2 separate regions of the Homo sapiens genome follow, and region 2 is linked to region 1. Evidence: promoter capture Hi-C in 16 types of primary human blood cells and fetal thymus (Javierre and others, 2016). All regions are on one chromosome and are shown on one strand. Each heading gives the region's core, a stretch centred on a gene start or on the middle of the fragment in contact. The rest is flanking DNA. Distances are from core to core; before and after follow the strand shown.

The links. The method cuts DNA at HindIII sites, captures the fragments that hold promoters and counts their contacts. A CHiCAGO score of 5 or more calls a contact.
Region 2: a contact is called between a fragment that was not itself captured here and the fragment with the promoter of H3C8 in region 1, in 1 of 17 cell types (naive CD8 T cells). The highest score is 5.0, in naive CD8 T cells.

The regions. Positions count from the first base shown.
Region 1 is chr6:26,267,629-26,275,427 of GRCh38, reverse strand. It overlaps H3C8 (H3 clustered histone 8), which reads left to right and starts at 4,015. Exons shown (of 1, transcript NM_003534.3): 1 at 4,015-4,510. The coding sequence starts at 4,044. The coding sequence ends at 4,454. H2BC10 (H2B clustered histone 10) reads right to left here and starts at 2,497. Exons shown (of 1, transcript NM_003525.3): 1 at 2,016-2,497. The coding sequence starts at 2,452. The coding sequence ends at 2,072. It also overlaps the pseudogene H2AC10P. RefSeq lists enhancers at 1,407-1,566, 1,977-2,026, 2,037-2,166, 2,907-3,246, 4,974-5,113 and 2 more. The HindIII fragment of the contact is 12,049 bases long and covers 1-4,614 here.
Region 2 is chr6:27,174,348-27,182,146 of GRCh38, reverse strand. TRI-AAT5-2 (tRNA-Ile (anticodon AAT) 5-2) reads left to right here and starts at 4,859; the gene lies at 4,859-4,932. RefSeq lists enhancers at 3,702-3,761, 4,112-4,211, 4,402-4,601, a silencer at 4,804-4,953 and a cis regulatory region at 3,943-5,020. The HindIII fragment of the contact is 1,154 bases long and covers 4,566-5,719 here.

The DNA.
Region 1 (7,799 bases), core at 2,766-5,265:
TTTAAAATGTATTCAAAATTAGCTTTGGGGAGCAAGAAATGAATGCCTTAGTTATATTTGGGGCTTAGAGAATTTTCTTCACAAATTCCATTACAAATTTACTTTGAGACTAGCCTGGGCAACACAGTGGGACCCTGGCTCTACAAAAATCATTAAAAAAAAAAAAAAATTCAGTGGGTGTGATGGTGCGTGCCTGTAGTGCCAGCTCCTTGGGAGACAGGTGGGAACACTAGCCAGGGAGGTTGAATGCAGTGAGCTGTGGTTGTGTCACTACACCTCAGTCTGGATGACAAAGTGAGACCCTGTCTCAAAACAAAAAATTTAAAGCAAATTTTGGTCACTTAATGTTCACAGTAAGCTGCTATGTGGGTATTTGCAGATAATGACATGTAGGTAATAGATAGAAAATAAGATCTTAGAGCTCACATTTACACTGACAATGCCCATGTTTTCCCCACCACAATACAGTGCTCAGAAAAGTTAAACTTGCTGCCAGGTGATCTTTAGGGCCCAAAGGTCACCATTAATATTATTTTATTTTTAAAAGAAACTTTTGCTGGTGTAAGGACTTTGCTGTGCAACAAAGAATATGTGTATCTCCTGACCAGTTTTCTTTTATTACAATTGAGCCTAAATTTCCTGACTCCTCTGACAGCAACTAGGCTCCTGCTTGGGATGGTCTCTAACAAACAGTGGGAAGTAATCCTTAGAATCAGAGTAGATTCAAATCTCAGTTTTATTTATGTGTAAGGGGCTAGTTACTTAACCTTAATTCTTGAGGTCATTCACCTGTAAAAGAGGAGCTTCCATTTCACAGCTGACTGTAGGAAAAAAAAAATCAATGAATGAAATAATGCATTCTAAGGACTACCACACAAATGTTAATTCCTTGTAACCCTCCTCTCTTAAAATGAATTTTCAAGAAAGGGAGTAGCTGTGGACAAAGTCGTTCCAGGACACGGAGGAGGAGGTTTAGGGAGAACACAGTCCTTGGAGCCTTAAAAAGGCTTACAGATAAAAGCGTCTGAATGTAGCACCGGGAATTTTCATTTCTTTGCTCCAACTTCAGGCTATCCTGTTGCCTGTTCTTTGTCTTAAACCTCAATATGTTCAGCTAAGAAGATGGTAGAGTTCCTGATCTTGCCAAGAGGTAATATGTATAGCTACGTGAAGTAATCCAGTAATTATAAACTCAGTAAAATTTGTAGAGAAATCAGTGGACTTGCAAGGGGGATATGAGAACGTCTGGTAGCGATCTGCCATGGTTTAGAAATGCAACCAACAGAGGTGATTTCCTCCATCATATGCCGCTCCAACCATTTGCAAGCTAACAACGAACTAAAAGACGAGTTTCGCTTTCTCAGACCTTATTTTAGATTTAAGACTACCCCAAACTTGATTTCCACCCGGCTACTCCAAATCAAGGGCAATAGGATGATAAAGTGAAACTAAAAACGAAAACAAAATTTTAAGATGGTGGTGTGCGGGGAGAAGAAAAGTGGGGATCAATCTAGAACACGATTTTTCCTTAGCTGCTGAGTGAAATGTGTCATATTAAGCTGCATACGAGCTTACTCCTTGGTGACGCTTACAATCTATAGGGGAAAAAACAACGAACCTGGATTTTTTTTTGAGATGTCTCGCTCTTATACCCCAGGTTTGAGTGCAATGGCTCTATCTGGGCTCACTGCAACCTCCGCCTCCTGGGTTCAAACGATTCTCCTACCTCTGCCTCCCAAGTAGCTGGGATTAAGTTGCCTGCCACCACTCCCGGCTAATTTTTGTATATTTTAGTAGAGACAGGGTTTCACCATGTTGGCGAGGCTGGTCTCGAACTCCTGACCTCAGGTGACGCGACCGCCTCGGCCTCCCAAAGTGCTGGGATTACAGGCGTGAGCCACTGCGCCCGGCCGAACTTGGATGTTTCAGTAAACCCTTACTATCCCATGTGTTGCTTAGCCATTTTACCTTGCCAATGCCAAGTCTGGAAAATTACAGATCTTTAAATGACAACATGGGTGGCTCTTAGAAGAGCCTTTGGGTCGTTAGCGCTTTTACCCAGGTAACTAGTTTACTTGGAGCTGGTGTACTTGGTGACCGCCTTGGTGCCCTCCGACACCGCGTGTTTGGCCAGCTCCCCGGGTAGCAGCAGGCGCACAGCCGTTTGGATCTCCCTGGAAGTGATGGTCGAGCGCTTGTTATAATGCGCCAGGCGGGAAGCCTCGCCTGCAATGCGCTCGAAAATGTCGTTGACGAAGGAGTTCATAATCCCCATAGCCTTGGACGAGATGCCGGTGTCGGGGTGGACCTGCTTCAGCACCTTGTACACGTACACGGAATAGCTCTCCTTGCGGCTGCGCTTGCGCTTCTTGCCATCCTTCTTCTGTGCCTTGGTCACCGCCTTCTTGGAGCCCTTCTTCGGGGCGGGAGCTGACTTAGCTGGTTCAGGCATGTTCGCAGCCGAAGTGATACCGTCAAATGACCACAGGAAAATGCTGGTGAGCCCAAACGCCCTCATTATTTACCTCGTGTATATGCAAATGAGGCTGGCTGAGTTTCGGTTTCTCATTGGTTCTTTTAGTGTCTGAATATATGATAGGCCATTTCTGAACTCCTAAATCTCATCGGCTCTCCCAGAAGCTCAACCTTGCATAATTTGACCTTTCAACTATAAGTATGTAAGTCAGAAGTGGTTTTTTTTTTTTTTTTTTTTTTAAATTTTTTTAAACACCTGCTTTTCGATTGGCTGAAATCTGTGTTCAGGAGATAGCACAGTCTACTTTGCCGAATATAGATTATAAGAGTTTAGCTCTTGCGTTTTACTAGAATCAATCACTTTCCTTCTTCTAAACAAGTATTTAAATACTTCACTGCGTCTGGATGTGGAATGCAGGGCAGCAAAGCTCGCGCCAAGGCTAAAACGCACTCTTCCAGGGCTGGTCTCCAGTTTTCTGTGGGCCGAGTGCACCGCCTCCTCCGCAAGGGCAACTACGCCAAGCGGGTCCGGGCCGGTGCGCCGGTGTACCTGGAGGCGGTGCTGGAGTACCTGACCGCCAAGATCCTGGAGTTGGCGGGCAACGCGGCCCGAGACAAGAAGACCCGCGTCACCCCCCGACGCCTGCAGCTCGCCATCCACGACGAGAAGCTCAACAAGCTGTTGGGCAAAGTTACTATCGCGCAGGGCGGTGTCCTGCCCAATATTCAGGCCGTGCTGTTGCCCTGTCTATACAAGTGACTGACTAGGCAAACAGGACTAATGAGAAAATGTTTAATATCTCAAGTAAGTGCTTTAATGTAGTCGGGAAGAAGCAAGTTCAGTAACGTTTACAAAACCTTGTAAAGTTTAGATGGACAGGGCCACTGCAGTGTTCAAGTTATCCTGCAGAAGAGGCTAGTGGGGGTGGTATCCTGGAATATCATCAATAGGACCCAACGAAAAGTAAATGATAAGAGTCGTTGGAAAACCTAAAATTAGCCTGTGCCTTAAAAATTCTCAACCGAAGCAAAACACCATTTGGGACAAAATAGAATTCAGTTAACATTTGTTGCTCACTGTTGTATGTCGGTGACTTCTTGGCTCGTGATTTCCCAGGTACATCACCCAGGAATCCTGCCTTATAATGGTCAAAGGTTTCCAGCTAGCAGCAGTCCAGGTGACTCAAGAAAACGGCACAAGATAAACTTCTCAAAACGTGGTCCTCCGAATCTGGCCCCACAACACATCTACTGAATGAGAATTAGCGTCTTCCAAGTCTTAAAGTAGTCGTTTACGGACTACAGCTTGAGAAGCGCAGAATTAGAACTTTAAGAAGTTAACGTTCTTGGATCGCAGACTAACCGAGAAGAGAGGATTCAAAAATGAAGTGATTCATCCAATCAGATTTTCCAGTAATTCACCAATCACATCGTTGGACTCTTCAGCCAATGGTTTTGTTGCGCGGGTCTTTTGAAAATCAACAAGGCCAATTAGAATGTTTCTGAGTATATATAAGGGCAGTTTCCACTCTGCCAAGTGGCTGAGTTTTTCTTTCAGGTAGTCTGAGATGGCCCGCACCAAGCAGACTGCACGCAAGTCCACCGGTGGCAAAGCGCCGCGCAAGCAGCTGGCCACTAAGGCGGCTCGGAAAAGCGCGCCGGCCACCGGCGGCGTGAAGAAACCTCATCGCTACCGTCCCGGCACCGTGGCTCTGCGCGAGATTCGCCGCTATCAGAAGTCGACTGAGCTGCTGATCCGCAAGTTGCCTTTCCAACGCCTGGTGCGAGAAATCGCTCAGGACTTCAAGACAGATCTGCGCTTTCAGAGTTCCGCGGTGATGGCCCTGCAGGAGGCCTGCGAGGCCTACTTGGTGGGGCTCTTTGAGGATACCAACCTGTGTGCCATCCATGCTAAGCGAGTGACTATCATGCCCAAGGACATTCAGCTCGCTCGCCGCATTCGTGGGGAGAGAGCGTAGAGGTTTCCGGGCAGTAATTCTATCCAACTTAAAAAGGCTCTTTTAAGAGCCGCCTACTTTCACCCGAAAATAGCTGTGATTAACTAATCAAATCTTTGAAACTAAACATTGGTTTTAGTACTTAAGTCCTCATTTGATTGGCTAAAGTTAATGGTAAGCTTGCTATATTTGTTCCCGTGCTTTTTCCCGAAAGTGCCAGATTGTCAGCGTCCTTTTCTAAACTGGCTTTTAGGGGTTTGGAGCTTCGATTTGGTAGTGGAAGGGGCCACCTGGGGGCGTTTATATACATTGTCTCAAGCGTTAGTCGCGTTGTCTACTTACACCCATTATAGATGGGATTTTTTTTCGTTGTGTATTTCTGGTTAATCCCTTTTAAAACTTTACAGGTATGAGCATTGGCAGTTGAGAGTAGGTAGGGATATCCTTGGTTGCTGCTTTTTCGTGTCTGAAGCAGCTATTTCCACAATTCCCCCTTTTTTTAAACAGTTCTTGGTTTTTCTGTGAAATGATCCATTTTTTAATTCAATATTAGAAATTGGCGGCAGAAACGAAAGCCAGATTGGCCTCTACATTACTGGCAGCATGGGCATTACGTGGGAACTTGTTAGAAGCTCCCAGGGCATTACATGGGAGCTTGTTTCAATCCCCATCTAGGGCTGGAGTCAATCTGCATATACCTCAGATGATTCTCATGAACACTGATTTAGGAAGCCTAGGTTGTTGGTTTTGGTCTCATCAGTAAAGGCATCCTGCCTGTGAACTCTTACAAGGAGTGAGCTTTTGCAAAATGCATGTTTATTTATGTTACAGAATGAAATATTCTATGAAATGTTCTCTAAAGCAAGTGCACAGAACAATCCCCTAAAATAGTTTGATTTCTTTACAGATCAGTTTTCTCAATGTAACATTACAGTCACATGGGAAGGCTTTAGAAAAATCTTTACCTGGGGTTCAATGAGACTAATAGCAATCTAGAGTGGGCCCAGGGAATGGTAATTATTAAAATTCAGGTGCTTCTAACAGCTGGGGCTGAGACTCCTTGCTACATAAATTTTAATACTCTTATTAGCTCTGGTTTGACTCTAGGCTTAGCAGTTTTCTAATTGAATCAGTTTCCTTGTAGTTTGCCTTCAGAGAGAATATACTGGTCTCTAAAGACTTTCTGGCTTGCTTGACTATCTTTCAACACCTGGCTTTTATAAGAATTTCTTAGGGCAACACTAATGTAAGTTTTTTCTTTTTTGTTTTGTTTTGTTTTTTGTTTTTTTGAACCACCGAGGTCCTTTTAGTGATTGGAAGTATCAGGTTTTTAGGGATGTTACAAGGAGGAACACATACCATCCTGGGCTGCTTGGCATACAACCAAGATATGTTTTCATATAGAACCCTTCCTTTACAGATTAGCACAAGGCCCTGTTTGGGTATTCAGCAGATCCTTCTTTATGATCTTTATTAATTTAGCAACTTGTCATTTTTTTTCACATATTGCTTTTATTTTAAAAACTTATTTGACATTCCAGAATATATGGGAAAGGAGATAATAGTTTAATAAAACCTATGTTCCTCTCATCCAGCTTCAATAACAACATTGGCTAAGTGTTTTATCTATTGATTTTTGTAAAGCAAATAATGAAACTGCCTAATGGGTTCACCTTGCCCACTGCCTAGACAAAGCTGATTTATCTAGGCAGGGAATTGCAATAGAGAAAGTAATTCACGCCGAGCCAGCTGTGCGGGAGACCGTAGTTTTATTGTTACTCAAATCAGTCTCCCCAGCATTCCAGATGGGGGGGAAGCCGATGAACCAGGAGTCCTGATTGGTCAGGTCAGAGATGTCATTATAGGGAGCTGAAGGTGTCTCCTTGGGCTGAGTCAGTTTCTGGGTGGAGGCCACAAGATCGGATGAGTCAGTTTACCAATCTGGGTGGGGCCAACTGATCCATCAGGTCTGCAAAATATCTCAAGCACTGATCTTAGGAGCAGTTTACGTGGGGTCAGAATCTTGTAGGTTCCAGCTGCAGGACTCCTAAACCATAATGTGTGTGTTTTTTTTTTTCTTTGAGACAGTCTCACTGCGTTGCCCAGGATGGAGACTGTAAACTCTGCCTCCCAGGTTCGAGCGATTCTCCTGTTCAGCCTCCCAAGCAGCTGGGATTACAGGCGCGCGCCACCATGCCCAGCCAATTTTTGTAGTTTTAGTAGAGACGAGGTTTCCTCATATTGGCCAGGCTGGTCTCGAACTCTGGACCTCAAGTGATCCACCCGCTTTCGCCTCCCAAAATGTTGGGATTACAGGCGTGAGCCATTACGACCTACCCCTAAACCATAATTTCTAATCTTGTGAGTAATTTGTTAGTCCTACAAAGGCAGTCTAGTCCCCAGGCAAGGAGGTTTGTTTTGGGAAAGGGCTGTTATCATATTAGTTTTAAACTATAAACTAAGTTCCTCCCAAAGGTAGTTCAGCCTACACCCAGGAGTGAACAAGGACAGCTTGAAGGTTAGAAGCAAGATGGAGTTGGTTAGGTCAGATCTCTTTGTCTCAGTTACAATGTTGCAATGACAATTTCAATATCATTTCATCTATTTTATATATGTTATCTGCTATTTAACACCTTATTATGGACCAGGTGCCTTGGCTCACTCCTGTAATCCCAGCACTTTGGGAGGCCGATGTGGGAGGATCACATGAGGTTAATTCTTGACAAACCTGGCCAACTTGGTGAAACCCCATCTCTACTAAAAATATAAAAATTAGCTGGACCGGGCCTGGTGGTGCACGCCTGTAATCCCAGCTACTGGGGAGGCTGAGGTAGGAAAATCTCTTGAACCTGGGAGGCGGAGGTTGTAGTGAGCCAAGATCATGCCACTACACTCCAGCCTGGTGACAGAGCGAGACTCCATCTCAAAAATAAAAACAAAAATAAATTATGATGCCATCATTACTTTTATAACAAATAGTATTTCTTTTTTAAAAATTTAATATGATCCATTTTGGTTGACATATTTCTTCAACATTGATTTTTATTTACTGCAAACAACACTGGTTGAGAATTTACAATGTACCAGATGCTGGTCTGTGCATTGGAAATACACCCAGAGAACAAAACACAAAATTTTTGCTTTCATGGAATTTACATTTGAGTCTGGAATAGACAGAAAATAAACTAGATATGTTTATGTAATATGTTAGATGGTGAGAAGGAAAAAAAAATAGAGCAAGACTAAGGAGTGTCATGGGAAGCTGAAATTTAGATAAGGCAACCAATGAAGACCCCACTAAGAAGATAATATTTCAGCAAAGAGCTGAAAGGTGAGGAAGCAACCTGTGCGGATGTGTTCAGGGAG
Region 2 (7,799 bases), core at 3,893-6,392, 910 kb before region 1:
TTCCTAAGTTCCTGCTTTGTTTCAGGTAAAGGCAAAGACAGGATACCTTCAATTCGTTCGGATCCTATCTTTCGTTCACCTTTACTGATTAGGTGTCCTAGATATTTTACCTCAGATTCTATGAATTGGATGTTGTTCTTTGAGACCCGTAATCCTTGTCCCCTTAGGAAATTTAGGAAGTTAACTGAAATTGCTGTTACTTGATCCTTGTTATCTCCTGAAATGAGCAGGACATCTACGTATTTGAGTAGGCATATGGATGAAGGCAGGGAGAAGTTTTCTAGGACTTGCTCTAAAATATGACCAAATAGATTTGGGGACTCTGTAAACCTTGGGGCAAGACTGTCCATCGACCGGAGTGAGGGTCCTCTCACTCAAAGGCAAATTTGTCCCAGCTGTCCTCTGCTAAAGGGCAAGCCCAAAAGGCATCATTTAAATCTGTCACCGTGAACCATTGGTGGTTATGCGGGATTCTACTGAAAATGGTGTAAGGATTGGGAACAACAGGGTGGATGGTCTGAACTATTTGGTAAATAGCCCAGAGGTCTTGCACTAGCTGGTATGACCCGTCTGACTTCCTTACAGGCAATATTGGAGTGTTATAAGGGGACATACAGGGTTCAAGTCTTTCAATTACAGGTTTTAAAACTATCCTGGTTTTAAACCTATCCTGGCTTCCAAGGGAATAGGGTATTGTTTTCGTGGACAAGGCTTTCAATTATAGGTTATAAACCTATCCTGGCTTCCAAGGGAATAGGGTATTGTTTTTGTTTCACTATTTCCCCAGGAGTTTTTAATTTGACATGGATTGGAGGAACCCATCCTCGATTCCCTTCTTTCGACCATACGTTGGGATGGATGCGGCTTTCTTCTGAAGTGGTGAGTACGTTTAAGGAAGTAAGGAGTTTTCCTTGATTAACATATAGGCCTGTGCCTAACCTTAACATTAAGTCCCTTCCTAATAAATTAGTTCCTGCTTCAGGAATTAAGAAGAACTTAGTAGCAACCGACTTATTCTTATATTTGACTTCGGTTTCCTCTAGAATTTTTGCTCTGAATCCTTCCCCTTTAACTCCTGAGACAGTAAGGTCTTCGGCTGAACAGGATAAATCTGATGGGAGAAAACATAGGCAGGAGCCAGCTGCTCCCGAATTGACCAGGAAAGTGACTATTTCCAATTTGGGTCCCACCGTTAAATTTATCAAGGGCTCTTGGTGGGACTCAAGATGGAAGACGTAGAGCCCCTGAGCCCACTGTTCTTCAAATGTCATGAGTGAAAGGACTTTCTTTTCCCTCTCCCATTCGGGACATTTCCTCTTAAAATGTCCTGGCTTTCCACATCTGAAACATCTGTTTTTCCTTCTCCCCCTCCTGGTTCCCTGATTCTCAGGTTTCGTCCCTTTGCTTCCTGTATAGGGTCTGGCAGCCTGGTACTCAGAAGGTTTACAAGTTCTATTTCCCTGGGATGCCTGTTGAAAAGTTCCCTGTTGTAGGGTGGACAGCATAATTTTTGCCTTTTGCTTCTGCCTTTCCTCATCCCTCCGTACATATACCTTTTGGACCTCTCTTTAAAGTTCCTCTATGGGACAGTCTTTCTAATTTTCTATCTTTTATAATTTCTTTATAGTGTCTGGCCAACTATTGGTGACAAAGTGGAGCTTTAACATCCTTTGTCCTAGTGGGTCCTCTATGTCCAAACCTGCGTATTTTCTTATCTGTTCCTTAAGTCTGTTTAAGAATTCCATGGGCCCTTCATCTTTCTCTTGCTGTACATTAAATGCTTGGGAAATGTTTTGGGTTGGAGGAACTGATTCCTGAATCCCTTTAATTATCATATCCCTATCTCTCATGTTTTCCCGGTGAGCCGCACTGTTGTTATCCCATTGAGGGTCCTGGGCCGGGAATTTATGCTCTGCTGCAAGGACATTCTGACGAGGGGGGTGCTTGCGCTCCCAGGCTATCATAGCAGCCTTGCAGATCATGGTTCTTTCCTCTCCTAAGAAGAGAATACCTAGAATAGACATCAATTCAGCCCAGGTATACAGTTGTGGCCCCATAAATTGGTCAATTTGATCTGAGACTCCAAAAGGGTCATCTAACAGTGGTTTGAGTCTCCTTTTTAGATTTCTAACTTCTTCACTAGCTAAGGGGGGCATTTACGAAGCCAATATCCCCTCCTCCTAGTGGTACTTCCCTCAAGGGAAAAAAGGTTGGGGCAGACTTCTTTGAAGAGAGGAAAGGAAAGTTTTGAATATCCCTTTGGCATTGTTCTATTTGCCACTGGAGCTTTCCTAAGGGAGGGGCATGTTCGAGTGGCTGTCCAACGGGGGTGTGTGGTGTCAAGGCCCATGGGGCAGGGTTATATGGGGGAGGGACGGAGTTTTAGCTTGGGGCAGAGGGGTAGGTGCGGGAAGGGCTGTTGTTCAGTCGGGGCGGAGAGGTAGGCAGGGGAAGGTGGTCTAGAGGATCCCGTGCATCTTTGGATATAGAATATGACTTAGCTAGGTCGTCTTTGGGGGGTTTTGAGTTTGGCTTTGCTTTTTCGTCCTTTAAGGGATAGAGAAGGACAGGTCCTTGTCTCCAACATAGAGCATAATCTATCTCCTCTTGAGAAACTGGGCTTTTATCATTGACATACTGGATCAGGAGTTGGCATATCCAGTCCTCGTCCCACCCAAACTTTGGCCAAAAGACCGAAGGTCTGAGGATGGGTTCCTTAGTCCAAATAAAACAGCAGTACTTTATCATTTGCTGTCTTTTCTTGTGTTTGGTCCTTTCATTATCCTTCCAGTATTTTAACATTAGGCCTAGGGGACTGTGAGGGAAATTTTATTGTCTGCTTGGCCTTTTAGAGTCTCTGTCTTACTTGGGGTTATTTCCCATCCTGGAGGTTGGTGAGGCTTAATATATAATATTAGAGATCTCTTGCACTCCCGTGTCTTAGAGGCTCAACCTCCCCTTTTTCCACTGGAGGTTTCTTGCACTCTCGTGAGCACTCACTTCGTCCTTATTGGCTGCTTCCCTTGCGGGAATTTTAGGCACCTCTTAGCATTGGCGGGTAGGTGGAATCCCCTGATTGGAAAACCGCCCTAAGCCGTATGAGGTGACCACGGAACCAAGTCCGGACTCCGCACTCGCCTTGCGCCCAGTGGTATGTCTCACTCACACACTTTAAAACTCCAGAGACCCCAACCACCAAGGAAGGCTTTGCCGCCCCAATAGCAACGTTTCTTACCTTGGTCTGTGCACAGAGTTACCTGTGGTCGCCATGGAATTCTTTTTTTTTTTTTTTTTGAGACGGAGTCTCGCTCTGTTGCCTAGGCTGGAGTGCAGTGGCATGATCTCGGCTTACTGCAACTTCTGCCTCCCGGGTTCAAGTGATTTTCCTGCCTCAGCCTCCCAAGTAGCTGGGACTAAGGGCGCGCACCACCACGCCCGGTTAATTTTTGTATTTTTAGTAGAAACGGAGTTTCACCGTATTGACCAAGCTGGTCTCACAGAATTCTTAAGGATCCTCCCTACTGTCCGCGTTGCTGAGAGTCCGGATTTATTCGTCACTTCGGGCGGGACTCGATCCTCCGCTCCTGGGGCCACCACGAGGCAATGGGACGCGTCTCCCCATGAAAGATAATCGCTAGCCCCTCCCGAAGGAGAATGGGATCCCGGACGAGTCCCTAAGATTTACTGGAAACAAGTGCTTGGTGTAGCCAAAAGAAACCCTCACTTAGAAAATTCCTCAGCAAGGCATCTTTACTTCTGCAGAAGGGTGCTCCTTGCCTGTTACAATTGCAAGAGCACACCAAACAAAGGAGGTAAGGAGTTTTTAATCCTAACGCAGTTCCTGTTTCTGTGTCCTTCCCCTATTGGCTGGGGTTGGACCGCACAATCTAAGCTGATCCCGATTGGCTAAGACTTAAACTTTGGCAAATAGGGTAAACCCTGGATTTGCGAAAAAAAGGAGTGTATGTGTGTGGTGGGGGGCGGGGGGCAGGCAGGATTGACGTACAACTTTTGCAACTTATGACAAGAAAGTTGAGTCTTTGAAGAGGGACTTAGTTGTCCCAACACTCTGAGTTGCCTGACCCGGTCCTGGGCTCAGTTCCTCCCAGATACCGGCGTTTATCATTGGTGTAGATAATGGTGACTTCCCTTGTCTTAGATGTGGGTGTCTTGGTCTTCCCGGGACGGAAGGAGTCAGAGACTCTTGAAAGGAGCCGTCCCGCTGGTCCTTTCATTTACGCCGATGCCAGCCCGGCACTCGAGCATCACCAAGGGCCCGGTGCCCGGCACTGCAGGGCCAAGTCTGATTTTATCGTTTGTGGAGCTGCAAGCTTAGGACGCACAGCTGTGAATTTCGGGTCCTGGTGACTGCGGAACCACCGCGAGGCCAGGAGGCGAGACAGTGCACTTTCCCAGGTTCCCAGGCCTAAGAGCCCACCTGGCTGGAATGGTCTCAAGGAGCAGAGAGGAATCCGCACCCTCCGAGTCCTCCGAACCCTCCGATCCTGCGAACCTGCGGCGGCTCTGCGGTTGGTTCCGTGAGGAACTGGCCGCGATCGCAAGCTTGGAGCTGCTTTTTGGTTTGTTCTGAGTCCTTCACCTGGTGAGGGGAAGGAAGCCCTGCTTGGGGTCGTTGAATCTGAGTTTTCTCCAGTCAGAATCAGTGGTTTGAGATTGTTTTCCCTGAAACAGCATGGTTTTCCTGTGCCTACAGTGAGGAATTCTCCTTTTCTTAAAAAAAAATATATTTTATTAATAAAAGGGAAAGTAACGCTTCTATTACAAAAAAAAAAAAATTCAGCGGGCATGGATCAGGTATGATTTAAATAAACATAAGAAAAGACCCTCCCACCAAGGAGGCCGGTTAGCTCAGTTGGTTAGAGCGTGGTGCTAATAACGCCAAGGTCGCGGGTTCGATCCCCGTACGGGCCACTTCCGTGGGTTTGTTTTTTTTTTTTTTCTTCTTTTTCGTTTTTATTTTACACCGACCACACCTCGCTTGTAAACTTCGGTTTTACATCGAACTCCGTAGCCTCGCCTATCCATTTATAAATGTAGTTGCACTAGCTAGACAGGAATTTTTTTCTTTTTTCTTTTTTTTTTTTCTTAAATCGACCACACCTGGATTGTATACTACCGTCTTACATCCAACTCCGGAGCGCTGCCTATCCATTTGTAAATGTGGTCGCAATAGCTAGACAAGCATTAGATTTGCACGTTTTTTATTCTTTTGAAGAAATAATATACGAGTTAGGATGAAAAGGTTTTTCTTATTTGTTTGTTTTGTTTGTTTTTGAGACAGAGTCTTGCTCTGACGCCCAGGCTGGAGTGCAGCGGCGCGATCTTGGCTCGCTGCAACCTCCGCCTCCCAGGTTTAAGCAATTCTTCTGCCTCAGCCTCCCAAGTAGCTGGGATTACAGGCGTGTGCCACGATGCCTGGGTAATTTTTGTATTTTCAGTAGAGACGGAGTTTCACCATGTTGGCCAGGCTAGTCTTGAACTCCTGACCTCAGGTGATCCGCCTGCCTTGGCCTCCCAAAGTGCTGAGATTACAGGCATGAGCCATCGCGCCCGGCCAGGATGAAGATTTTTTAAAGGAAATTCAATGAGGTGGGTGGGTGATTTTAGAAAAGGGTTAAATAAGAATTCGATAATGTCTTGTATTATTTTGGGAAAAAAAAACTTTCTGAGATAATACTATTTTGACATATTTTAAGCTTTTGAAAGAGATCATATTGATTCTTCTCCTAGTTGATCACTCAGTTGGTTAAATTGTTGTGTTTGTAGCTTTGAGGGCGAGGGTTCAGTCTACGTGGGAAAAAGCCAGACTTGTGACGTTGCTTTCTGCCAAGCTCCAGACACTCAGCCACAACTGCTCAGTGTTAAAATAGATCCGTGGTTAGCCTTAGGCTTATATTTGACAGCTGTTCTCGATGTGGCCCATACCAAGCCATTTACGATGCGGCCCTTACCAAGCCATTTACAGTTCATTAAACAATTTTTGAACATATATCGTAAAAGCGATAGGTTTGAAATGTGACAAAAATGGAGTGCGTGGTGGGAGACAGGAGGGCCAGAGCCTCTGGGTCCACTCTAAGTCTTAGCACCTCGCTCTTTCTGTCCTGCGCTTTCTTTTTTTTTTTCTTTTTTTCTTTTTCTTTTTTTTTTTTTTTTTTGAGACGGAGTCTCGCTCTGTCGCCCAGGCTGGAGTGCAGTGGCGCAATCTCGGCTCACTGCAAGCTCCGCCTCCCGGGTTCACGCCATTCTCCTGCCTCAGCCTCCCAAGTAGCTGGGACTACAGGCGCCCGCCACTACGCCCGGCTAATTTTTTGTATTTTTAGTAGAGACGGGGTTTCACCGTTTTAGCCGGGATGGTCTCGATCTCCTGACCTCGTGATCCGCCCGCCTCGGCCTCCCAAAGTGCTGGGATTACAGGCGTGAGCCACCGCGCCCAGCCCTGTCCTGCGCTTTCTTGGAGTCTGGTCACTGGGTCCCCGTGTGCCTGGCACGTGTCTCATTTACATTTCTTCCTTCACTCTTCATCCTCCCAACATATTTTTACCCTTCTCTTATTTTAAAACATGGGTTGCTATGAAAATGACATTAACAATATTGATAAATAATGAGGTAAATAATGGCTCAAAAACAGCGCCAAGGACATAGTGGGCGAATCACAAAGGGAAGGGGCTCCCTCTGTTTTGCTCAGTGCTGTGATTTTTCACGTCAAAAACAGTAAGTAGCTCAAAGTCAGCGACTGAAAAAGATTTCTTTAGAATAAATTAATGAAGAGTACCTACTACTTAGTCCATTGTATATTAGATGATATATACAGATTTAAGTATAAGAAGGATTCCACAGGTAGTTGCTGACTTTGAAAACGAAGGGAGCCACCAGCCAGAGAACTCAGGCATCTGCTAGAAACTGTGAACAACCTGTAAACCGTTATCTCAGTCCTACAGCTGCAGGGAACTGAATGCTACTGACAACCTGAGTGAGTTTGAAAACGAATTCTCCCCTAGAGCCTCCATGAGGAACATGGCCGGGCCTGCTGACGTTTTGGTATTAGTTTGATGACACCCTGCCAGACTTATAACGCACAGAACTGTGTGATAATGAATGGATGTTGTTTTAAGCTATTAAATTTGTGGTAGTTTGTTAAGGAAGTAATAGAAAAACTAACAAAACAAGAAATTGTTAACCCACCCACACTTCCTACTATCTATCCTGGGTTATCTTCCTCTCTTCAGTGCAGTGTAAGATGAAATATGGTTTCAAAATGAGGGACAATAATTTTCAACATCAACACAGTAAGAATGAAAAAAAAGAGGGAGCTTCTTAGGATCCATTAAAAATTAAGGATATAGATATGCATATATATGAAAAGTTAATACATTCACATAAACAGTAACTAAAAGTGAAGATTTTCTTCTTCCTCATAACCCACATCTGCTCAGTTCTCAGCACTACCTCCTATATATGACAATTCTTCTTAGTTTCCTATGTATTCTCCTTAGTGTTCTTTGTGCAATAGGTGCAAATATACATAATACATTTTACTTTTCCTTTCTACTTATGTAAAATATAACATTATACACACTATTTTACATTCTGCTTTTTTCACTTGATATGCCTTGGAGATGTCTAATTTAGCAACACTTGTAATGCTTTCAAACAGCATTATATGCTGTACAGAAATAAAACTTTTTTTTTTTTTTGAGACAGAGTTTCCATCTTGTCGCCCAGTCTGGAGTACAGTGGTGTGATCTTGGCTCACTGCATCCTCCATCTCCCAGGCTCAA